Linked DNA regions of Homo sapiens: all the other regions are linked to region 2. The links are contacts of gene promoters, found by promoter capture Hi-C in blood cells and fetal thymus (Javierre and others, 2016). All regions are on one chromosome and are shown on one strand. The core of a region is centred on a gene start or on the middle of the fragment in contact, and the rest is flanking DNA. Distances in the headings are between cores, read along the strand shown.

Region 1 (6,162 bases), core at 2,492-4,991, 120 kb before region 2:
TCTCTCCAGTAAATGGTACTGGGAAAACTGGATATAAATATGCAGAAGAATAAAACTTGACTCGTATCTCTCACCATATTCAAAATTCAAGTCAAAATAGATTAAAGGCTTAAATCTAAGACCTCAAACTATGAAACTACTAAAACATTGGGGACACTCTGCCCAGGCAAAAATTTCTTGAGTAGTACCCCACAAACACAGGCAACCAAAGCAAAAATGGACAAATGGGATCACATCAAGTTATAAAGCTTTGGCACAACAAAGGAAACAACAAAGTGAAGAGACAACCCACAAAATAAGATAAGATATTTACAAACTCTCCATCTGACAAGGGATTAATAACCAGAATATATAATGAGCTCAAACAACTCCATAGGAAAAAATATAATAATCTGATTTTAAAATGGACAAAAGATCTAATCAGACATTTCTCCAAAGAAGACATACAAATGGCAAACAGGTATATGAAAAGGTGCTCAACATCACTGATTATCAGAGAAATGCAAATTAAAATTACAATGAGATATCATCTCACTCCAGTTAAAATGGCTTTTATGCAAAAGACTGAAAATAACAAATGCTGGCATGGATGTGGAGAAAAGGGCAAATTAGTGCAGCCACTATGAAGAACAGTACGGAGATTCCTCAAAAAAACCAAAAATAGACCTACCATACGATCCAGCAATCCCACTGCTAGCTATATACCCAAAAGAAAGGAAATAATTATACTGAAGAGATACCTGCACGGCCATGTTTATTGTGGCACTATTCACAATAGCCAACATTTGGAAGCTACCTAAGTGTCCATCAACAGGGGAATGGATAAAGACAACGTGGTACATATACACATTGGAGTACTATATTCAGCAATAAAAACGAATGAGGTCCTGTCATCTGCAACAACATGGATGGAACTAGAGGATATTATGTTAAGTGAAATGTCAGGCACAGAAAGACAAACTTCTCACATTCTCACTCTTTTATAGGAGCTAAAAATTAAAACAATTGAACTCATGGAGATAGAGAGTAGAATGATGATTACCAGAAACTGGGAAGAGTAGGGGGTTGGTGCAGAGGGCCACAGAATTGAGATGGTTAATGGGTTTAAATATATAGTTAGAATGAGTAAGATCTAGTATTTGATAACACAACAGGGTGATTACAGTCAACAATAATTTATCACACATTTTAAAATAACTAATAGTATAACTGTAATGTTTGTAACATAAAGAAATGATAAATGCTTGAGGTGATGGAAACCTCATTTACCCTGATGTGACTATTATGCTTTGTATGCCCATATCAAAATATCTCATGTACCCCATAAATATATCCACCTACTATTATATGTACCCATAAAAATTTTAAAAAATCAGTGAAGTAGAAAACCAAAAGGCAACAAAAAAGTCAATGAAAATAAAGACTGATTATTTGAAAAACATCAATAAAATAGGTAAATCTCTAGCATGGCTGATGAAGAAAGAGAGAAAATACAAACTACCAATATCAGCAATGATAGAAGAGACATTACTACAGATTCTACAGATACAATAAAGGAATATCATAAACAACTTTATGCTATAAGTGCACCAACTCCTTGAAAGACAGAAATGAGCTCTCTCCAGAAGGAAAAGATAACCTGAATGGCCTAATATCGATTAAATAAACTGAATCTGCTCAGCAAAAAACAAACAAAAACTCAAGGCCCAGATAGCTTTACTGGGGAAATCTACCAAACGATTAAGGAATAGTGTCAGTTCTATACAAACTCCTCCGGAAATTGAGGGGAAAAAAAAACAGTGGGGAAGGGGGGAAGGGGGAGGAGGAGAATACTATCTAATTCATTTGGTGAGCCTAAAATTATTCTGATACCAAACCAGACAAAGATATCACAAGAAATAAAACCTACAGTTCAACACCCTTCATGACAATATGTAAAATCATAGCAAATCAAATTCAAAAATATATATATATATATATATAAAAGATACATCAAGACCAAGTGTAGTTTCTCCCAGGAATGCAGTTTAATGTGTGAAAATCAATGTAGTTCAATATATTAAAGAACTTAAAAACCGGCCGGGTGGCCTGTAATCCCAGCACTTTGGGAGGCCAAGGCGGGCAAATCACCTGAGGTCAGGAGTTCAAGACCAGCCTGACCAACATGGAGAAACCCCATCTCTACTAAAAATACAAAATTAGCTGACCGTGGTGGTGCATGCTTGTAATCCCAGCTACTCAGGAGGCTGAGGCAGGAGAATCATTTGAACCCAGGAGGCGGAGGTTGCAGTGAGCCGAGATCGCACCACTGCACTCCAGCCTGGGCAACAAGAGCGAAAGTCCGTCTCAAAAAACAAAAAAAAAAGATTTTAAAAACTATATGATCATCTCAAAAGATGCAGAAAAGCATTTGATAAAATTCAACATACATTTCTGATGAAAATTCTCAGCAACCTAGCAACAAAGGAAATTTCCTCAACTTGATAAAAGGTATCTGTAAGACTTTTACATAAAAGATAAAGTCTGAACCCTTTCTCCCTTAGTATCAGGAACAAAACAAGCAAGTCCAGTTTCACCACTTCTATTTTTACTAAAGGTTCTAGTCAGTGCAATAAAATAAGAAAAAGGAAATAAAAGGTATTCAAATTGGAAAAAAGCAAAAATTGCCTTTATTCGAGGATGATAATTGTCTAGGTAGGAGACCTAATAGAATCCACGAAAAAAGCTATGAAAACAAATAAATGAGGTTAACTAAGTTGCAAGATGTCCTAAGTATGCAGCAACCTACGGTATTTCTATATACTAGTAATAATCAGAAATTAAAATTTTTAAAGTATCTTTTACAATAGCATTAAAAAATAAAACCTTATGGAAAAATCTAACAAAAAATAAGGAAGGCCCATACACTGAAAACTATAAAATACTGCCAAGCAAAATTAAGTAAGATCTAAATAATTGGAGAGATATATTTTGTTCAGATTGGAAGACTCTATATTAAAAGATGTCAATTCTCTCTCAAATGGATCTACAGACTCAAATGATTCCCCATTGAAATCTGAGATTATTTGTAGAAATTGACAAAGTGATTCTAAAATTCATATGAAAATTCAAGAAACCTAGAATAGGCATAACAACTTCGAAAAAAATAACAAAGTTGGAAGACTTACACTACCTTACTTACTTCCAGGCTTATTAAGAAGCTACAGTAATAAAGACTGTACAACATTGGCATAAAGGCAGACAAACAGATCAATGGAACATAATAAATTTCAGAAGTGCTCCCTCCTGGACATACATGGTCAATTAACTTTTTTAAAAAGGTGCAAAAGGAGAAAGACTAATCTTTTCAAGAAATGGTTCTCAGGCCGGGCACAGTGGCTCACACCTGCAATCCCAGCACTTTGGGATGCTGAGGCGGGTGGATCACCTGAGGTCGGGAGTTCAAGACCAGCCCTGCCAACATAGTGAAACCCCATCTCTACTAAAACTACAAAAATTAGCCAGGCGTGGTGGCGCACACCTGTAATCCCAGCTACTTAGGAGGCTGAGGCATGACATGAGAATCACTTGAAGCAGATTGGGACGTAGGGTATGCAGTGAGCCCAGATCGCACCACTGCATTCCAGCCTGGGTGACAGAGTAAGACTCTGTCTAAATGTTCTCAAAGGATCAAATATCCATATGCAAAAAAAAAAAACTTTGATCCATACCTTGTATCATATATAAAATGCAACTCAAAATGGATCATGGACTTAAATATAAAACATAACACTGTAAAACTTTTAGGAAACAATATATGAGAAAATCTTCAGGATCTAGGGTTAGGCAAATTGTACTTAGACTTGCTAAAAATACAGTCCATAAAAAAAATTAATAAATTGAACCTCTTCAAAACTAACTTTTCTTCTATGCAAGACCATGTGAAGAGGATGTAAAGTTAAGCTACAAAGTAGGAAAAAGTATTTGCACATATCTGACAAACGACTAGTATCTAGAATATATAAAGCACTTTCAAAACTCAACAGTAAAAAACAAAATCTATTTAGAAAATGAAACATGAACAGACATTTCACTGAAGAGGACATACAGATGGAAAACTGGCACATGAAAAGATGTTCAACACCATAAACCACTAGGAGAATCCAAATTGAAGCCAATATCACTGTTACAACACATCTAACATAATTACTAAAATAAAAAACAGTCACAACACCAAATGCTGGCAAAGGACCAACTAAATAGCTCACATCATTAGTAGATGTATAAAATGGTACAACCACTTTTGAAAAGTTTGGCACTTTTTTTATGGATCTAAGCATGCAATCACCATACAACCCAGCAAACTGCACTACTGGGCACTTATCAGAGAAATAAAAACCTACATCCACACAAAAATCTATACAAAAATGTTAACAGCAGCTTTATTTTTAATACTAAAAAACTACAAACAGTCCAGAGGTCCTTCAACAGATGAATGGTTAAACAAACTATGGCACAAACATATCACAAAATTCTATTTAATAAAAAGAAAAGAACTATTAACAGACGCAAAAACTTGGATGTGTCTTGAAAGAATTACACTGAGTAAGGCCGATCCCAGAAGGTTACATATTGCATGATTCTATTTTTATAACATTTTTGAAATGGCAAAATTTTGGAAGTGAAAAACAGATTCATGGATGCTATGGGTTAGGAATGGATGGGTGGGGTGGGACAGAGAAAAGTATGTGTGGTTTTAAGAGGGCAACACAAGAGATTCTTGTGGTATATAACTGTTCCATATCTTGACTGTGGTGGCAGATATATGAATCTTCACTTTTGATAAAATTGAATAAAAATACATGCACACACACACACAAATTACTGTACAAGCAAAACTGCAGAAGTCACAGTAAGATTGGTGGGTTGTATCAACATCAGTATCTTGGTTGTGACATTTGTCTATAATTTTACAAGATGTTACCATTAGGAGAAACTGGGTCAAGTGTCTATGTATTTTTTTAATCATCCAACATATATTCAACTGTGATTCACACATTATAGTTTCTCTATGTATGTTTTGATTCATAGCTTTCCTTCCATCCCAAACATGCACCAAAAGAGTAAAGAAGCTATTATCTCAACTAAATGGCGGCAAAAAAATGACCATTATTCTTAACCTAACTTTACTCTTCAAAACAGAGAAGCAAAATACTAGAAATACTCAATGCCCTACATTGAGAAAAATGTACTATAATCATTCAGCAATAAATATATAAGTTGCAGCAAATTACATGGTACAATAAAATCTTAATAACCTAAAATCCTACTAAATATATTTCCCTTGGTTAATTGGAATTGTTTTTTGAGAAACTGCTGTAATGTGAAAAGAATACATGGCAAAGAAATTCATCACAAATTTAAGAAAATGATTACTTCATGAAAATGATAATCCTCATTTTTTAAAATTTAAAAATTAAAACAGCACTGTCAAACTGTACTTTCCATGATGCTGGAAACATTCTATAATCTGCATTATCCAATACATTAGCTCCTAGCCACAGTGGCTATTAAGCCTAGAAATGAGGCTACTGGAATTAAGAAAGTGAATGTTTAAATTCGGTTAAATAGCCTTATGGCTAGTGACTTCCACACTGGACAGGACAAACCTAGAACTTACAGAAAAACTTAAAAAAAACACAGAGAGACAGCCACAATGTAAAAATCATCATCATCAGTATATTAGGTCAATATTTCTCAAACAGGGCACTACTGGCATTTTGGGCAGAATAATTCATTGTGCAGAACTGTCCCAAAGAGAATGTTCCTTTCAAATGATAAGGGTATTTTTTCCCAAGTTTAGTTTTATGACAACTTTTGAAATTACAGAGTATTATTACATTCAAAGAAATTACTAAAGCTGTTAAATTCACAGCAATAACGCATTTTCACCAGCAGAGGGCAGATATATGTTATAAAACCACCACTTCGTATATACTGTATTCAAATATTTAAGAAGCCCAATTGTACTGAAAAGACACTATTATATTCATTTATACAAAAAGAATTGTACTTCTGTAAGATAAGAAAGCAAATGTGCTAAAAAAGAAATGTGTGTTTTTTCAAAAATACACTGACAAGTCTCCCAGAAACCAATTTTTGTCAACTGTATCAGTTTATTCA
Region 2 (6,078 bases), core at 12-2,511:
GATAATGTAGGACTTTCACTTTCTGTATTATTCATTTCTGGACTATTTAAAACTTATACAATTAAGTAAAATGTTTGTATTTGGGTAAAATGATTGCACAAAGGAAAACAAATTGCATAGAAATCTGGCACCATTTGAGGGCAATAATTACTGTTTTCAACTTACATAACTTCTCCAGGTGTCATATATTAAAATTATGTTTTGCGGACCGGGCGCGGTGGCTCACGCCTGTAATCCCAGCACTTTGGGAGGCCGAGGCGAGCGGATCACAAGGTCAGGAGATCGAGACCATCCTGGCTAACACGGTGAAACCCCGTCTCTACTAAAAATACAAAAAATTAGTCAGGCACGGTGGCGGGCGCCTGTAGTCCCAGCTACTCAGGAGGCTGAGGCAGGAGAATGGCGTGAACCTGGGAGGCAGAGCTTGCAGTGAGCCGAGATTGCGCCACTGCACTCCAGCCTGAGGGACAGAGCGAGACTCCATCTCAAAATAAATAAACAAATAAATAAATAAATAAATAAAATTATGTTTTGCATAGTCTGGGCTGCTAACTGTATTATCTTGAGAAAAATTTCCAACAACAATGGGTTTAAAAATGTTGGTTTTACTGAAAGCATGAATGCTTTTTCTGTACTGACAATTCCTGGCTTCATCTAATTTACGTTATACTTATTTGCCTTTGGCTCACTTCTGCACTTTTCCCATTTTTAAAAGATAAACTGTAAACTGCCACAAATCCTTTTCTGCTGGAGCCTGGACCAGGAGCGCGGATTCCTGTAAATAATGATGTAAATAAATAAGTAAATCAATGACTCCCATTCCCAAAGGGCCTTCTTTTCCATTTTTCTCTGGGGCATCGAAGTGCGGTGTGCCCTGCGAGCTCCCACAGGAACAACCCGGAACGTTTGTGGTCCTGTTGGGCCACCGCGTGCTCGGTAGGAAGCGGACGTCCCGGGGGCTGAAAGGGCCTTAGCGATTTTCTCGCTCTAGTCCCACCCGAGACCCGGGGCGCTGCAGGAACCTGCCCAGGCCACCGGGTGGGCGGCTGGGCGGGAGAAGCTGGGCAGCCCCTGGCAACACCGAACGGCCAGGACACACGCGGCTTCCTCCGCGGGAGGCGCTTCTCTCTGCGCCTGGGCCTTCACGACCCCTCCCGCGACCGTGGCCCCGAGGCCAGGTGCTTACTTGCCGCTCTCCACGCCGTGGCCGAGACCCAGCTAAGCAACCAGGGAAGCCTCGATGGGGTCATGGCGCCGACTCCCCGAGCCTCCGCGCAGGCGCAAAGCAGTAGTGGGAGGAGCAGGGGGCATGATCCGGAGCCTCCCTGCAGAGGGCGGGGCCTCCGTGGCCGGCTTTAGAAAAGGAGTTAGAGGCATCCCTGGGCTCTTTGGCCAAGAGAGACCCAGGCTACCTTGAGCCCGGTGTTAAAACGCCAAATCGTGGCTGCAGTTAGAAGAGGGAATAATTCCGTTCCGTTCATGCTTGTCAGTCTGAGCCGAAATGGCCCGTGGAAGATCCCTTTTATAGTTTACAAAGATTGAGCACCTTTTACTCTCTCACTCATGTAAAATGCTTCTTTTACCTAATTCTCCCTGTTTTGTGTTTTAAATCTTTGTTCAGTCAGCTCCTAGTTCGTCCATTCTGACCGACTAACCAGATGATATGAAAGGCGACATTTTTGAATGAGGTGCAAAGCAAGAAAAGGCTCTCCATCCAGGCCAGGATCCAGTGCAATGAGCTCTGCCCCTTAACCCTTACATCCCACCAGCTCTGATAGCGTTGAGTGGATGTGGCAGACCTGGATGCTTTGTGCAACTCGTGGAAATATTTACAGAATCATAGTGAAGGCCCCCAGAATTCTGGAATTTTGTCTTTTCTTTTAAAGAAAAGTTTCTGGCTAGCTATTGCGCCTTGGTAGTGTCTGACCATGTGACATCAAGTGGTTATACGATCGAAGCTTCTTATCATGAACTGAGAATTATCTGGTTCTCCTAGATAAGGAGATCCTTTTACGAAGAGAAAGTGGGCCGGGCAAGGTGGCTCACTCCTGTAATCCGAACACTTTGGGAGGCCGAGGCGGGTAGATTACCTGAGGTCAGGAGTTCGAGACCAGCCTGGCCAACACTCTACTAAAAATACAAAAATTAGCCGGGCGAGGTGGCACATTCCTGTAATCCCAGCTACTTGGGAGGCTGAGGTAGAAGAATCGCTTGAACTCGGGAGGCGGAGATTGCAGTGAGCAGAGATCACGCCACTGCACGCCAGCCTTGGAGACAGAGCAAAACTCCATCTCAAAAACAGAAAAAGAAAAAAGAGAGAAAGTGGGATACACAGAACTGGGCCAAAGTCAAAACGGAAACAGTTTTCATTTGTAGGGAGCTCACAGTCCTAATATCATGCTTTTGACCTTTAGCTTATATCTACAGTTTAATAATGAATTCCTTGTGACTAGCTGACTGAGGAAAAAATTCAAAGTCGGATGATGGCTTTGCTCAATAAACTGGCCCAGCTGGCAACTGACTGCTTTTCATATTTAGAGCCCCACTTAACAGAGGCCCTGAAGGAACAGAACAGGGAAAAAAAATTATTTCCAGCATGCATAATTTAGCTTATTTATGTATTTTATGTTTTTACAGGCACATGTCACCACACCTGGCTGATTTTTCTATTTTTAGTAGAGACAGGGTTTCGCCATGTTGACCAGGCTGGTTTCAAACTCCTGGCCTCAAGGGATCCACCCCTCTCAGCTTCCCAAAGTGCTGGGATTACAGGTGTGAGCCACTGTGCCTGGCCAGAATTTAGCTTATCTTGTATGCTTTGCCTAAAAAGAGACATGGCTTGAGATAAAAATCGACATTTCATAGGCAGTGACTGGTTTGTCAAGTGGCTGGGAACTGGGAATGTAAAAGTTTTGGACTGGGTCTTTGGAATAGGACCTCTCAAAGTGGTCCCAAAGCATGAAAACATTTGGGTCCTATTGAACGTTAAAAAAAAAAAAAAAAAAAAGAGCTTCCATTGCAGAAGGGCTCTTAATCAGAACAAGATTATTAGTTATCTATTGCTGCCTCACAAATTATCCCAAAATTTATTGGCTTAAAGCAATAAACAGTTATTCTCTCACAGTTTTTGTGGATCAGTAACCTAGAAGCCAGAGTGACTGTGGTTCTGGGTCCTAAATGAGGTTGCAGCCAAGCTGTTGGCTGAAGTCCCAGTCTCGTATAAATGCACAACTAAGGGAAGATCTGCTTCCAAGCTCATTCACATGATTATTGGCAAGATTTGGTTCCTTGTGGACTTTGGACTGGAAACCTTCTCAGTTATTTGTTAAGTGGGCTTCTCCAAAGGCTATCTTGCAACATGGCAGCTGGCTTTCCACAGGACAAATGAACTAAGGAGCAAGAAAGACCACTCAAAATGGAAGCCCTGAACTTCTGTAATCTCATTTCGGTAGCGACATCCCACCACTTCCACTGTATCCTATTATTAGGTCCCGGCCACTCTCAAAAGGGGATTACACAAGGGCTGCAACAGTGACCCATTCTGTGGACATCAATTACTCAGCCTCCTTCCCCCACAACAGGTGTGGACTCAGTAACAAGGTAGCCACGGTGGCAAGAATGGAGACATACATGTACTTTTAACACCGTCTTTCTTCTGCCATGACTGATTGGCTACTACCACTACTCGCCAACTGCAGTGACCAACTTGATCCCATGATACACTTTTATGTGGTCTGGGTGGCAGGTCTGATTACAATGAAATCCTACTGTTATGAAGGAGGTTGCAATTTGTTCTTACAGGAAGAGACAATTATTCTGCATTTAGATTGTTTTCCCTGATTTATGCTTATTATATACTTCACCTGTGGACTTACTGAATACCTTAACACACTACTCCATATTTAATACAATATCATATACAACATTGCTTCTTACCGAAGAACTCATTTTCTTGTGAAAGATGTAAAGCAGGGGACTAATGCCTGCAGGATTCACAGTCTTATATATTCCATCATCCAAAAGCAACCGATTTTATGGAATGACGGACAGCCTTATTGAAGGTTGTTTTGGAACGAGGTGAGAAAATACACTTTGGGATACTGCCCTAAAGGATTTGTCATATTTTCCAAATGAGTCAACGGTATTTGGTGATATATCTTCTGTTGACAGAATAACAGAGATCAAAGAGTAGAAAAGGGTCTGACTTCTTACTATTGCATATGACTTACTGATATAAAATATATTTTGCTTTCCATTGTAGTAGAGAAGAGACAAGCTCCGAAGGCCCCTGAACATGCCTGTATATTATTACTGAGTGTGCCAGACTGCAAGCCGTATCCATCTCCTGATGCTAAGCAGTTTCTGTAGTTAGTCATATAGGCACCTAAGTAGGTCAAGGCAATCACAGCATTACTACCATTTAACTGCTGCTCCCTGGGGGAGAGAGACTAGCTTGTTTGTTGTTTGCTCAAAAACTGCTTGATTCTTGATCCTGGATTCTTCTGTAATGCAACCCCCCATGTGCACAGACGTCATCCGGCCCTCTGCATCACACTGTGGGAATTGGGCTACGGGAACTGATGCAAATATGCGGACACTCTGGCTTCTATTTTGCTGTAATAAAGCTGTTTTGTCTTTTGTCCAGGAGTATCCTGTCATCATCCATGAAACTGCAGCAACCTAGCCTGTAACCTTGCAAGTAGGATAAAATCTCAGACCCTTCACTACTCTTGCTAGCCATCTCTGAGTCCAGGTTCTGTTGGTATAGCAATTTTTGTGCCCAGCTGGAATTGCCACCCAGCCATTTTGACCTCATTCCTCTAGGTAAGGTTAGAGAAAGTGGTGATGGTGCTAGCTGGAGTGATTGGCCCTGATGACCATGGAGAAAAGAGAGTAGGGAGAACAGTATAACCAGAAGTCAGGGGGGTCTCCTGGAATCCCTCCTCACAATACCATGTTTTTATATTTTATTTTAAAAAATACCATGCTGAATGGTAACATTTACATATAAGACTATTACAACCATATATAGGCAAGACCACCCACACCTCAGATCCTCTGTCATCCACTGGATACATAAATCTGATCAGCAGAGGTGCTGCTTGAACATAAAGAAAACAGAAAATAGTTGGCAGTGGTGAGAAGTCATAACCATCTAGATTCACGACCACTGACAGGACTAAGTACTGTATTTGCGACGTGTTATTAGAGAAATTTGGGACATAAAACATGCTGCTGCTTTTACACTATCCTGAAAATTCTGATTCAGGTGGTCCGTAATAAGGTCCTAGAATGTGTATTTTTAAAGTAGTCTAGGTAATTCTTGGCACGGACATTGCAAAGCCCTGCTCTATTTTGTTTTCTTCCTCACTGGCTCATGCATGTTTATAAAATTTTCTCTTATTTCATATGTATATATATATTTGAGTTGGGGGGTCTCCCTGTCGCCCAGGCTGAAGTGCAGTAACTCACTGCAACCTTGAACTCCTGGACTCAAGTGATCCTCCCACCTCAGTCTTCCAAGTAGCTGGGACTACAGGTGCATGCCACCAGGCTCACTTAAATTATTTTCTAGAGATGGGGTCTTGCTATGTTGCCCAGGCTGGTCTTGAATTCCTAGCTCAAGTGATCCTCTCACCTCAGCCTCCCAAAGTGCTGGGATTACAGTCATAAGCCACCACGCCCAGCTTCTTTCCTATTATACTGTTATTATGTATAGGGGTGGTGGTTAGGTCACAATTTTGTCTATGAGTTGCACACTATTGAGATGAGATTATTACAGAATCAGAGAACATCACACTGAGGTCCTGGACTTAAAACTGGATGAGGGATAGTAGTACTATGTCAGAAAGATGCATTTTAAATGTGTAAATATGGAGAGAATTATGCTTGCAGATGTTGGGAAGACAAAAAGATGGACTATATTACACCTGATGTGTTTTTATATTTGGTGCTGTCATCAAACCCATTTCATATGTTTGGTTAACCTTGGTAGAATAAAGGGTCCCATTTTCTACTGTGGAAACTAACGAGGTCAGATACATCTGCTGTCTTTGATGCCTGACAGCCCAAGCACTG
Region 3 (6,539 bases), core at 3,033-5,532, 84 kb before region 2:
TGTAGGGAAAAGACTGGATGTAGGCAAGAGCAGATGCAGGGAGACCAGTTAAGTGCCTTTGGCAGTGGTCTAGAAGAGATGACAATAGTTGGATTAGGATGGTGGGGTTTTTTTTTATTTTTTATTTTTTTGAGATGGAGTCTCACTCTGTTGCCCAGGCTGGAGTACAGTGGCATGATCTCGGCTCACTGCAGCCTCTGCCTCCCAAGTTCAAGCGATTCTCCTGCCTCAGCCTCCTGAGTAGCTGGGATTACAGGCATGTGCCACCACTCCCAGCTAATTTTTGTATTTTAGTAGAGATGGGGTTTCACCATGTTGAACAGGCTGGTCTTGAACTCCTGACCTCAGGTGATCTGCCCACTTCGGCCTCCCAAAGTGCTGGAATTACAGCCATGAGCCACCTCGCCCAGCCAGGATGGTGGTTATAGAGATAGTAAGAAGTAGGTGAATTTGAGAAATTTAACAAGATAAAATCAACAAGTCTTGGTAATGGACAATAGAGGCAGTAAGGGAGAAGGAGGTATCAAGACTGACTCTGAAGTTTCTGCCTATGCAGCTTAGGTGGATGGTGCCATTCACTGAGCAGGGCAACACCCAGAGGTATGTTCTAGGGTGATCACAAGTCTGAAGTGCCTTTGAAATATACAAATAGAGCCCGACACAGTGGCTCAAGCCTGTAATCTCAGCACTTTGGGAGGCCAAGGCAGGTGGATTGCTTGAGTCCAGGAGTTTGAGACCAGCCTGGCCAATATGGCAAAACCCCATCTCTACTAAAAATACAAAAAATTAGCCGGGTATGGTGGCGTGCACCTATAGTCCCAGCTACTCAGGAGGCTGAGGTAGGAGAATCACCTGAGCCCAGGAAGTCGAGGCTGCAGTGAACCAAGATCGCATCACTGCACTCCAGCGTGGGCAACTGAAGTGAGACCCTGTCTTCAAAAAAAAAAAAAAAAAAAAAGCTGTCAGGCAGACAGTTGGATATCTGAGTCTGGAGCTCAGAGAAGAGGTCTGGGCTGGAAGTATACATTAGTGATTGAAAGTATAAACATGGCTGGGCACGGTGGCTCACACCTGTAATCCTAGTACTTTGGGAGGCCAAGGCGGGCAGATCACCTGAGGTCAGGGGTTCAAGACCAGCCTGGCCAACATGGAGAAACCCTGTCTCTACTAAAAATATAAAAATTAGCCGGGCATGGTGACACGGGCTTGTAATACCAGCTACTCGGGAGGGTGAGGAAGGAGAATCGCTTGAACCTGGGAGGCGGAGGTTGCAGTGAGCCAAGATCACACCATTGCACTCCAGCCTGGGGGACAAGAGCAAGACTTCTTCTCAAAAACAAAAAAAAAGGAAAGAAAGTATAACATGGTAATACATACATATATTTTTTTGAGATGGAGTCTCACTCTGTTACCAGGCCAGGCTGGAGTACAGTGGCGCAATCTTGGCTCCCTACAACCTCCGGCTCCCAGGTTCAAGTGATTTTCCTGCCTTACCCTCCCGAGTAGCTGGGACTATAGGCATGTGCCACCACACCTGGCTAATTTTTGTATTTTTAGTAGAGACGGGGTTTCACTATGTTGCCCAGGATGGTCTCGATCTCTTGACCTCGTGATCTGCCATCCTTGGCCTCCCAAAGTGCTGGGATTACAGGCGTGAGCTACAGCACCTGGCCTAAACATGGTAATATATTATCACACTAAAGAAGCTATGGAAGTAGAATAAATCACATGAGAAGGAATAACTGAGTAAAAACAGAAGATGGCCTTGGATTGAGCTTTGAGGAGCATCAATATTTATTATTAATATAAGCCAAGCATGATGAACCTGCACAGGTGTCTGAAAAGGAGCCCTCAGAGAGACAGGTGAAAATCTTTCATATTAAAATTTGTATCATTTATTTACTATTACATAACAAACCACTTAGTAGCTTAAAACTACAACTTAGGCCAGGCTTGGGAGGTAAGCAGAGATCAACCTTAGTAGCTTAAAACAATGACTATTTTACTGCTCAGAATTCCATAGGTCAACAATTATGGCTGGTCTTAGCTAGAAATTCGGTTGTCTCACCTGAAGTCACTTATGTGATTTTAATTTTCTGGTGACTCAACTGGGCTGGCTGGTTCCTGATGGCCTCCAAGCCTGGATGATTGGAATGACTGGCACAGCCAGGCCCCTCTCTTCATTTTGTTTTCTCTCTCCCCAAGGAGACTAGCCTAAGCTTGCTCACACAGCAAAAGCACCATTACAAAAGACAAGGCCAGGCTCAGTAGCTCATGCCTGTAATCCCAGCACTTTGGGAGGCTGAGGCAGGTGGATCACCTGAGGTCGGGGGTTTGAGACCAACATGGAGAAACCCCACCTCCACTAAAAATACAAAATTAGCTGGGCATGATGGCACATGCCTGTAATCCTAGCAATTCAGGAGGCTGAGGCAGGAGAATCACTTGAACCTGGAAGGCAGAGGTTGCAGTGAGCCGAGATCACACCTCCATTGCACTCAAGCCTGGGCAACAAGAGCAAAACTCCATCTGAAAAAAAAAAAAAAAAGACAAAGCCCAATGCACTAAAGGTCATATTGGCTAATATCCTATTGACCAAAGCAAGTCACATGTCCAAGCTCAGAGTAAACTTGGGAGGCAATGATATAAAAGCAGGGAGCATGGGACAAGTGATTCCTTGGGAGTCATGAAAAGTAAGAAACCACCATGGCAATTATGAATCTACAATGATTTGTTTCCCATCAAGTCTAATCTAAATTACTTTTCACCATGGAATACTACTCAGTGTTCTATCAAGCTAGTTCTTTCCTTATGCTTCATTCTTGCTGTGACCTCTACTTGAGATTCCTTCTCCATGTCCCAGCCTTCTCCATCTGGTGAATTTTACCCATTTTTTAAAGCTCACCTCATCTTCCACATTTTTGTTCATTTTACTTTGTCATCCTAGAACACCACCCCCTACTCTGCTCCCCAGTCCTAAGGCTATGCCAACATCTGACCGATTCTAATCTCAACTTCCCCATGAAGACTTCTGAAATGGCTCCAGCCTTCATGGATCTGCCTTGTCTATATAATGATCTAATAATTATACCAAACAATTTTGAACTTAATTATGTGTACTTTGTACTTTATGTAATTATGTATATTTTGTATTGTTGGCTTTAAATATACCTCTTTTCTACTAATGGATTGCAAATGTCTTGATGAAAAAAACTGTGTCCAATACTTCTTTAACATAATGGCATATAAAGATGAACAGTGTTCTCAAGAATGTTACTGTCCAACAGGGGAGACCTGCCCCACCCCCAAGTAAACAGGTGATTTTAATAGAGTACAGGTGCTATTTCAAGCATAAGTGCAGGATGCTGTGGGAAAACGGTGAACAGGTTCTAAATTTGTTGCTGTTGCTAGTATCTTTGGAGTTTTTTGGTTTGTTTTTATTTCTTAGTGGGGCAGGATGTGGTCAGGGAAGCTGATCTCTAACCTGAAAGTCCAATGATGGGTTAGCCAAAGGAGGGCGGGGCATGGAGAAGGAGTTTCAGTCTGAGGTTTTACTAAGAATGTAGGTAAAGAGGAAAGAGATATCTCGGTTCTTTAAAAACTGCAAGTACAGGACTTAAAAGCTGGGGAATAGTGAGAGAAGAGCAGTAGTGAGATTGGATGCTAAGGGCTTCAACCCTGGAAACTCCGTCCATGTTTGATATGGTCCGAATTGTCTCTGCAAGACTCATGTTGAAACCTAATCCCCATTGAAGTGATATAGAGTTGGGCCCTTGGGACAGTAATTAAGTCACGAGGGCTCCACCCTTATCAATAGGATAAGGGTAGTAATAAAATTGGCCTAAGGGAGCAGAGAGCCTCTTCGACCATATGAGGACACAGAGAAGGCACCATCTTTGAGGAACAGGCCCTTACTGGACACCGAATCAGCTGATGCCTTGATCTTAGACTTTCCAGCTTCCAGAACTATGAGAAATAAATTTTTATTGTTTATAAATTACCCAGTATAAGGTATTTTTGTTACAGCAGCCCAAATGGAGTAAGACAATGCTTTTTTGTGTTATTCATGATGCTATTTTGGAGGTAAGTATTGGCCCAGTGTCAGTAGGGCATTGAAGGAACCTCCTAATCCAAGGTCGGGATACATGAGAGGGGGTCCTCGTGGTCACGTTTTCTCAACTGCCAGACTCCTGTGCTTTATCCTGTCATTTCTGTACAATACTGAAGGAAAGGCCTGCAGAAAGACTTTAGCTCTAGCCTGTACCTTGAAAAATTAATGAAGACCTCTGTGAAAACAAGAGGTCAGGGTTACTGCTATCTCTTGCCTCAACGTGTAAGATTGTGTGAAATCATGTAGTTGGGTAACAATGATTGCAATAGGCCCAATCTCAGAGAGTGATAAAAAAAAATCCTGGGCCTTGTTCCTACACAGTAGCCACACTATAACACTGTGGTTGGTGAAAAGTAATTTTATAAGCAAGTCACCAAACAAATACTTCTCTCTATGTGATTTTTAAATAAAAATAGCTACGATCCCCAATCAACGTACAATACTAATTAGTCCCTTCTCAAATCTTATAAATGGTTAGTCAACCTCATTTTAGAAAAGGCCAGCTGTTTTGCAAAAAACTCATGAGAAGAAAAAGACAAAAATAAGTTTACTCCACCAAGCTGATTTAATGTGGGCTCCCAGGGAGATGGCAAGCATTTCAGTGATGTATCTAACACAGAATTTTCTTTAGACATTTCTGAAGCTCTAATAAGCCAGATCCTGCTGTGGAAGTAAATTAATCCCAAATACAAGTTAGGCATTTCGCAAAGTGCATTAACTCTTTCAAGTCTCCTGATCACAAAATATCCTGGAATGCCCATTAATAGTGAGATCGAATTGAATAGAGGGCAAGTGAAACATCCCTAGTTACAGTGGTCATTTGGGAAAATCTAAATGTGCTCCCAAACGACCTACTGTGTTTACATTTGAATCATTTGGAGGTGAAAGAAAATAGTTTATTTATCTGTCAGGGATCCTCATTCTGTTTCCAGTCTGAGTTCTCTCTTTCTATTAGTAATTTAGCAAATTATACAATAGCTGAACATTTACCTTGCCTCCCCGCTAAGAAATTATCAGGCATTTTCAACACTGAGGCCATATAACAAAAAATAAATTCATAAAGGTAATTTCCTGTGAGGTTAGCTTTAGTATTTTTTCACCTTTCATGTTCTAATAATAATTTTGTTTATATACAATGGTCGTAGTAACTAAGACTCAAATGGGTCAGTGACTCATCTATGTGTGTTTGTAAAAAAAAAGGGAAAGAGGCAGAAAAGTTGAATATGATTAAGGTTCATTTAATTTCAGTAATATTTCAACTAGAAAGGCGTTCAGTTAGGAATCTGTATGTAGTTATATAAAATCACAAAAAAAGGGCCGGGCGCGGTGGTTCATGCCTGTAATCCCAGCACTTTGGGAGGCTGTGGCGGGTGGATCACCTGAGGTCAGGAGTTTGAGACCAGCCTGGCCAACATGGTGAAACCTCATCTCTACTGAAAATATAAAAATTAGCCGGGCATAGTGGTGCACGCCTGTAATCCCAGCTACTTGGAGGCTGAGGCAGGAGAATTGCTTGAACCTGGGAGGCGGAGGTTGCAGTGGCCAAGATCGCACCACTGCACTCCAGCCTGGGTGACAGAGCGAGACTCTGTCTGAAAAATAAAATAAAATAAAATCACAAAAAAGAAACAACCTAAATGTTCAATAATAGGTAAGAGGAAAAATCACGTATGACAGAGCCCCATAATGGACTATTGTATAAATATTAAAGTGATATTTATGAAGAATTTATATGTCATGTAACTATATGATTACAATTACATTCTAATTAACTGGCAGAGTAAACCTCTGGAAGAAAACATATCAAAATGGTAACAGTAGTAGACTTTGAGAGAAGAACCTTTAATATTTTTCTCTACATAACAAAAATTTCAAAGTTTCAACAAAAAGAATATGGCCAGTTTTATAAATGGAAAAATTCTACTTTTAAAAAAAACACAAAAATCCATCTTAAAAATTTATATTTTACTAAAACCAAACTTAGTGACTGTAGTACCTATAGTGCTTTTACAGTTTACGTGGCACTTTTACATTTGTTCTCTACTGTCTATTGTAATTGAGACCTTAGCACACTACTTATTTCATATCATGTGAAGCTAATTGTATTCCACTTTTCACAACATGATATTAAATCTGGCAAATGTTTTAGTAGACATAGGATAATTCCCAAATGTAATTTTCTTTATGATTGCTCATAAAATACACATTATAGATGTAGTAATAAAAAAGCTTATGGAAATCATTATATTGAAGTATTTTAAAACCCTCAAAGTGCTACATTCCCTCCTCACTGATTCCTCACATAACATTTTAAACCTTTAAAACTCTCCCTCAGGCCAACACACAGAATTCCCCCACTCTCCCACTTGCTCGCCTCCAACTTTCCAGAAAAGGAAAAAAATAAGCTGAGTATATCAGGGCTGGACTC
Region 4 (6,326 bases), core at 2,320-4,819, 110 kb before region 2:
TTGTACTCATCGTTATGATTTATTATAGCAAAAAGATACTAAGCACAATCAGCAAAGGAGAAAGGCACAAAAAGTCCAGGGGAAATTAGGAGCAAGCGTCCGGGTGCTCCCTTCCAGTTGAGTTGCAATGAACACACTTAATTCTCCCAGCAGTGAGCTGTGACCACACATGTAAAATGATGCCAACCAGGGATGCTCATCAGAGACTCAGTGCCAAAGGTTATTAGGGAGACTGGTCATGTAGGTAACCCTGGCTGGCACATATGCCAATTCCAGAATCCCAGAAGAAAAGCAGATATTCAACATAAACCATATTTATTATACAAACAACTTAGGCACAATGACAGACTCATCACTTAGGGTGGTGGGACCATCCCCAAGATTCCCCTCAGATGTCAGCCAACCACCGCAAGGCCTGCTTTGTTAACTCTTTTCTCCACACCAATGACTAACAGATCCTTTTGAGCATGAACCTTATCTACCTATCCCCTGCTAATCCCCAGGTCCTAAGAAAGTGCCAGTCACTCCCCTCCAAGTTGTTTTTTTCTTTTTTTTTTTTTTTTGAGATGGAGTCTCGCTCTGTTGCCCAGGCTATAGTGCAATGGCACGATCTTGGCTCACTGTAAGCTCCGCATTCCGGTTTCAAGTGATTCTCCTGTCTCAGCCTCCCCAGTAGCTGGGATTACAGGAGTGCACCACCACACCCAACTAATTTTTGTATTTTTAATAGAGATGGGGTTTCACTATGTTGGGCAGGCTGGTCTCAAACGCCTGACCTCAGGTGATCCACCCACCTCGGCCTCCCAACATGCTGGGATTACAGGTGTACACCACTGCTCCAGGCCTCCTAAAATTTTTTTAATGAAAAAATTTCTGGCTCCACTACTTTAAGTTCTGTGTACCTGGGTAATAATATTACCTACCTCAAAGGTTGTTTTGAAGATTATATGAGTTAGTATATGTAAAGTGTGAAGTACATCATCTCTGGTAAAAAAAAAAAAAAAAAAAAAAAAAACACTATATAATTTGTGAGTATATATGTAATGTTATTATTTGCTTTTTTTTTTTTTTTAACATTCTCCAGGTCACAATGGAGCTACCCTATCTCTAAACTTCTAATGAATCTACCAATGTAAACATAGATTAGAAGTTAACTGGTAATTGTTTCATGTCTACTGAGATCTCTAACTAGCTTGTAGACAACTATATCCAAAACTTTTTGTTTTTGTTTTTTTGAGATGGAGTCCCACTCTGTCGCCCAGGCTGGATGGAGTGCAGTGGCGCCATCTCGGCTCACTGCAACCTCCGCCTCCAGGGTTCAAGCAATTCTCCTGCCTCAGTCTCCCGAGTAGCTGGGACTACAGGCATGTGCCACTGCACCTGGCTAATTTTAGTATTTTTAGTGGAGACAGGGTTTTGCCATGTTGGCCAGGGGTGGCCTCAAACTCCTGGCCTCAGATGATCCACCTGCCTCAGCCTCCCAAAGTGCTGAAATTACAGGCATGAACCACTGCACCCGGCATCCAAAACTTTTTTAACACACACAGTAGTATCTAACGTAGTACTTAATCTTTTTAGTGCCCAGAAAATATTGATTTATCAACAAAATTAAATGTCTGTTAAATCAACTCTTTACAGTGGTAAGAATGTAAGGCGGTCAACTCTTCTGATAATAACTACAAAATGGCCTCCAAGTTTCTTTGATCTTCTTTCATTGAGAAAATTGAGAAACTGAACTAAAATGGCTTAATTCTAATCCGTGAAAAGACGATTAGTAGAAGCGTTTGAAATAAGCAAAAGGGGCTGGGTGTGGTGGCTCACACCTGTAATCACAGCACTTTGGGAGACTGAGGGAGGCAGATCACTCGAACCCAGGAGTTCAAGACTAGCCTGGGCAACATGACGAAACGTGGTCTCTACAAAAAATACAAAAATTAGGTAGGCATGGTCGCACACATCTGTAGCCCCAGCTACTTGAGAGGCTGAGGTGGGAGGATTGCTTGAACCAAGGAGGGAGAGGTTGCAGAGAGCCTACATCGCACTCCAGCCCAGCGACAGAGTGAGACCCTGTACCAAAAAGAAAAAAAAAGAAAAAAAAAATGCCAAAGCACTTTTTTGAGTTTATAAAGTATATCGTTTTAAACATTCTACTTTGCCTTAAAGAGAGCATGGATTCAAGTCTGTTATAGGTTAATAAAGGTGGAGAAAGATATATATATATATCTTGTACAGCAACAATTTAGGAGATGTAAGCCTCCTTAATTAATGAAGTCAAGTACTGAAAGTTTTATCTTAAACAAACAAACAAACAAACAAAAAAGACAAAGAAGAACTGTGAAGAACAAAAGGAGGGGAGACAACATGCAGCCCAAGTTTTAAACTGATGAGTCAGAGACCAATGATTTCCATCTCAGCTCTGATACCAGGGCTCTGCCCAATCAGGAAAAACCTCGAGATCAGCAGAATTACAAGAACAACAGACCCATCAGACTGAAGTTTCACATTTTGAGGAAACTTTTAGATTGGCAAATTTCTTTAGGTGAATTATAATCAGACTTTCACTTATATAAATTTGTCCTATAAGCATCAACATCATAATAAACACCAGTTCCCCAAGGTGAACTTTACTTTTTAGTAAATATTACTACACTTTAAAAGTAACAACTCTAAAATATCAAAGACTTAATGAAAAACATGAACTCTTGGATTGGCTCTTGCAATCAAATGGGCTCTACACGTTTCTACTTTTTGAAAAAGTTAGAAAGCTAAAAGACTCCCTTGAAGGCAAGGTATTGGACATAATTAGGATCTGCCAATTATCTGCACATGGAAAGCACAAGTGGGACAGAGGCCACATTCCTACAGAAAGGGCAACTAACAAAAAACGTCTACAGACACTAAGTGGTTGCAGCTCCATAGGCCTTATGCCCCCATCAGCATACCAGTCTCCTGGGTGAGAAGCAGTTATGACAGTGGGGCAGCGGTAGCAGTGGTGGTATGTGTGGCCTTGAAAGCAGTTCAGCAGTGGCTCCCTGACTTTCCCTCCTCCAGCCCTTCCAATGACTTGGTAAGTACCTGATTCCTGAAAATAGCTACAGTGGATCTCTTTCCTGCTCTATACCCTGACTTATATATTGACATTGTGTGAATTTAGGTCCTCTTGCCCTCTTCTTGGACCACTGTTCAACATCTCCTAACTCAGGATTTGCCTGCAATCCTCACTATCCCAGTTCTTCCTCTGACCTGAGACTACCAAAACTGATCATGCTTAAAGAAAGCTTATCTAGTAAGGGCCGTATGGAAACTTCTTCTGTTCTTTCATACTGGTACATGTGTGTGTGCAGCTGTGTCCTTTAATTCCTTCTCTATCTGATGAAATCCCACTCCACCTTCAGAACCTAGCTCAAATGAAGACTCCTTCTGTGACTGGTCCCAACAGGGTCACTCCACATGCCACTCCCTTTCACAGGTGCACTCCCTTTCACACACCCTGCTGCCTGCCAGGGGCTCTGTGCTCATTCATTCACACATTCATTCATTCAAAAAATATTTGCTAAGTTACATTTGCCTACCACATGTCCTGAAAACTGGGGATACTACCCTAACCAAGATAAACAAGGTCTCCTCTCTTACAGCTATAATCCAGCAGGGATACAGTGTACCCCATAATTACCTAAATAATGTTTAATTACAATTGTGATAAGTGCAATAAAAGATTCAGGGTGTTGTCTTTTATGTATAAACGGAAGCCTAACCTAATCTCAGAGGATCAAGGAGAATTATTTCCCTTGAAAAGACATTTAAGCAGGAATTGAAAGATGAGCAAAAGCTGAGCAGGCAAAAACTTGTTAGAAAGCTTCCCAGGCAGAAGAACAGCACGTGCAAAGGTCTTGAAACAGCATTCTAGGAACTGTAAAGACCACCAATGGGCAAAAGTCAAGGTGCAAGGGGAACAACAGCCCAAAATAAGTATAGAGGTAGTTATTTCTTAAAACCATTATTACAAGCACTTAGCACATCGTTTTAGAATCATTTATTTGCAAAAACACAACCCACACTAAACAAACTCCTTTAGGTCTTACAAATTTTTTTAGCTCTCTTACCTAATACAATATCTAACAGTGTGTCTTCAAGTCAAGATCTGCGGAACAAAGAAACGAGTGTTTGATCTCAGCAATGAGCTTACCCTCTCAATATCAGACAGGCTAAACAAAACAATCTCTAGAGTTAAAAAACCTTATGTTTCTGACTACCCAAAATTGAATGGGCAAGAGACTCACTTTCATACCAATTTAAACATGCTCAAAATCAAACCTAGCAAAAGATGGAAACAGACCAAATGTTCATCAATAGACGGATAAATTGTGGTCTATCCATACAATGGAATATTATTCAGCCATAAAAGGAGTGAGGTACCGACACATGCTACAAAATGAATGAACTTTGAAAACATATGAAGTCAAAGTCAGAAACAAAAGTTCATATGTTGTATTATATTAAATATCCAGAACAGCCAAACCTACAGAGATAGAACATGCAATAGTGTCTGCCAAGGGCTGGGGAGAGGGGATAGTGGGAAGAAACCGCTCAATGTGAATTTTATCTATATGTTTTGTTTTTGTTTTTGTTTTTCCCTGAGACGGAGTCTTGTTCTGTCACCCAGGCTGGAGTACAGTGGCGCGATCTCGGCTCACTGCAACCTCCGCCTCTCCGCCTCCCAGGTTCAAGCAATTCTCTTGCCTCCGCCTCCCACGTAGGGATTACAGGTGCCTGCCACCATGCCTGGCTAATGGTTTTTGTATTTTTAGTGGAGACGGGGTTTCACTATGTTGGCCAGGCTGGTCTTGAATGCACTTTTAAAATCTCAGAAATATACATTAACAAGCATGGGACATGTCAATGTGGTACCTGCCAAGCCCAGCGATGTTTTCTAGGAGCCCTACTCAGCCAAGTTCAGGCTACTCCTGATGTCCAACACAAGATGCCCTATTCAGAGCATGTGAAAGAATAGAGAAGTGAAAAAAAAAAACAAAAATCAAAGCTAGAATTACCTGTAGATAACACTTTAAATACTGAAAACTAAACTTGAAGCTGGCAAGGCATTCCCAGTCCTCACTGCTCCCTAAAGTGCCACCAACTAATAACCAACAAGAGCTGCTTTAAACTCCCACTGAGTCATGAATGCAGCTAGGAGAGAGGAGGAGTAGTTCCATCTGCCTGTTCTTAAATTCTCCAGTTGTTCAACAGATTTGGTAAGAGCAGGATCAAGAGCAGGAAACTGGCGCCTATGCCATCCTTTTCTCCTTCGTTGCTTCCTAAATACTGTCAATCCAGGAAACACAGCTGGTGATTCAGTAAGAAAATGTCAAAACCCAATTGACATACCTCTACCAACTATGATAAGGCAAGATAATACAGGCACCTCAAATCCTAAGCTTTAGTTTTGGTACATATTCTCAAAGATCAGTGGAAGAAGCTTCTTTGAAAGAAAGAAAATTGAGTTAACTAGGAAATAACTTTGAAATACAGTACATGAAAAGTTTGATGCAATTTACTAGACAGTGAAGAAAACATCAATACATACACAGAATGAAACTTCTTAGTAACTGAGCTGTAGAGTAAGACCTTTAACATATCTTTTAAAAGTACTATATTTATTATGTCATCCTAGCATATAGATCCAAAATCATGTAACAAGCCAAGAATTCTACTAAAAAAGCCTCCATAATGTACTTCAACCTTACCAAATACTCAAAAACTGTGAAAATATATTTACATCAATTGCTCTATCATGTCGAATTTTTCAATTATTACAACCATGAAATCAAGTCTAATTAAATCAATAAGTGGCCTTACCTGTGATTTTTTGCCTGAAAGATCAAGATAAAACAATGAAATTATTTACAAGATCATTTTAATATTCTTCTAGATTTAGTAGCAACAAGAAAAAAATAATCCTTGTAAATTATACTGTGGAGTTCATGCCCTTCAAGCTGCACCCTTGTACTCTTGATACCATTCTCTTCTCTCCCACTTCCTTCACTTCTCAAAACAAGTAAACCAACAAAAGGCCAGACAAAACCAAAATACAAAAGACATTCATTCAATATATATCTACTGATTTCCGTGGCAATACAAACACTGAGCAAAACGAATACTTCCTATTCTTCAGGTCCAAAGAAGTAAAACTTTTGATCCTAATTTAAGAAGTACATGATTCTCTTCTCCCCACCTCAAAAGAGTAAATAAAAAAAAAAAAAGTTAACATGGTTAATAATGGCTTTTAAAAATCTGTATTATTTTAGAAAGCATTAGTGAAAATCTGA

What was found. Contacts are between HindIII fragments. The CHiCAGO score rates a contact against its expected background, and 5 or more counts as called.
Region 1: a fragment that was not itself captured here is called in contact with the fragment with the promoter of SDHAF4 in region 2 in 9 of 17 cell types (total CD4 T cells, activated CD4 T cells, non-activated CD4 T cells and 6 more); the score reaches 11.9 in total CD4 T cells.
Region 3: a contact is called between a fragment that was not itself captured here and the fragment with the promoter of SDHAF4 in region 2, in 4 of 17 cell types (naive CD4 T cells, activated CD4 T cells, non-activated CD4 T cells and 1 more). The highest score is 6.3, in naive CD4 T cells.
Region 4: a fragment that was not itself captured here is called in contact with the fragment with the promoter of SDHAF4 in region 2 in 13 of 17 cell types (activated CD4 T cells, fetal thymus, non-activated CD4 T cells and 10 more); the score reaches 18.3 in activated CD4 T cells.

Annotation. Positions count from the first base shown.
Region 1 is chr6:70,686,510-70,692,671 of GRCh38, reverse strand. All of the region lies in intron 1 of SMAP1 (small ArfGAP 1), which reads right to left. Among named protein-coding and RNA genes, the nearest start is that of SMAP1, 22 kb to the right of the region's middle. The HindIII fragment of the contact is 6,982 bases long and covers 251-6,162 here.
Region 2 is chr6:70,562,113-70,568,190 of GRCh38, reverse strand. SDHAF4 (succinate dehydrogenase complex assembly factor 4) reads right to left here and starts at 1,261. Exons shown (of 3, transcript NM_145267.3): 1 at 1,187-1,261. The coding sequence starts at 1,250. RefSeq lists a silencer at 914-973. The HindIII fragment of the contact is 5,796 bases long and covers 1-1,960 here.
Region 3 is chr6:70,648,459-70,654,997 of GRCh38, reverse strand. No RefSeq gene overlaps it. Among named protein-coding and RNA genes, the nearest start is that of SMAP1, 16 kb to the left of the region's middle. The HindIII fragment of the contact is 4,121 bases long and covers 2,222-6,342 here.
Region 4 is chr6:70,669,888-70,676,213 of GRCh38, reverse strand. The region is part of intron 1 of SMAP1 (small ArfGAP 1); the gene reads right to left. Among named protein-coding and RNA genes, the nearest start is that of SMAP1, 5.2 kb to the right of the region's middle. The HindIII fragment of the contact is 578 bases long and covers 3,281-3,858 here.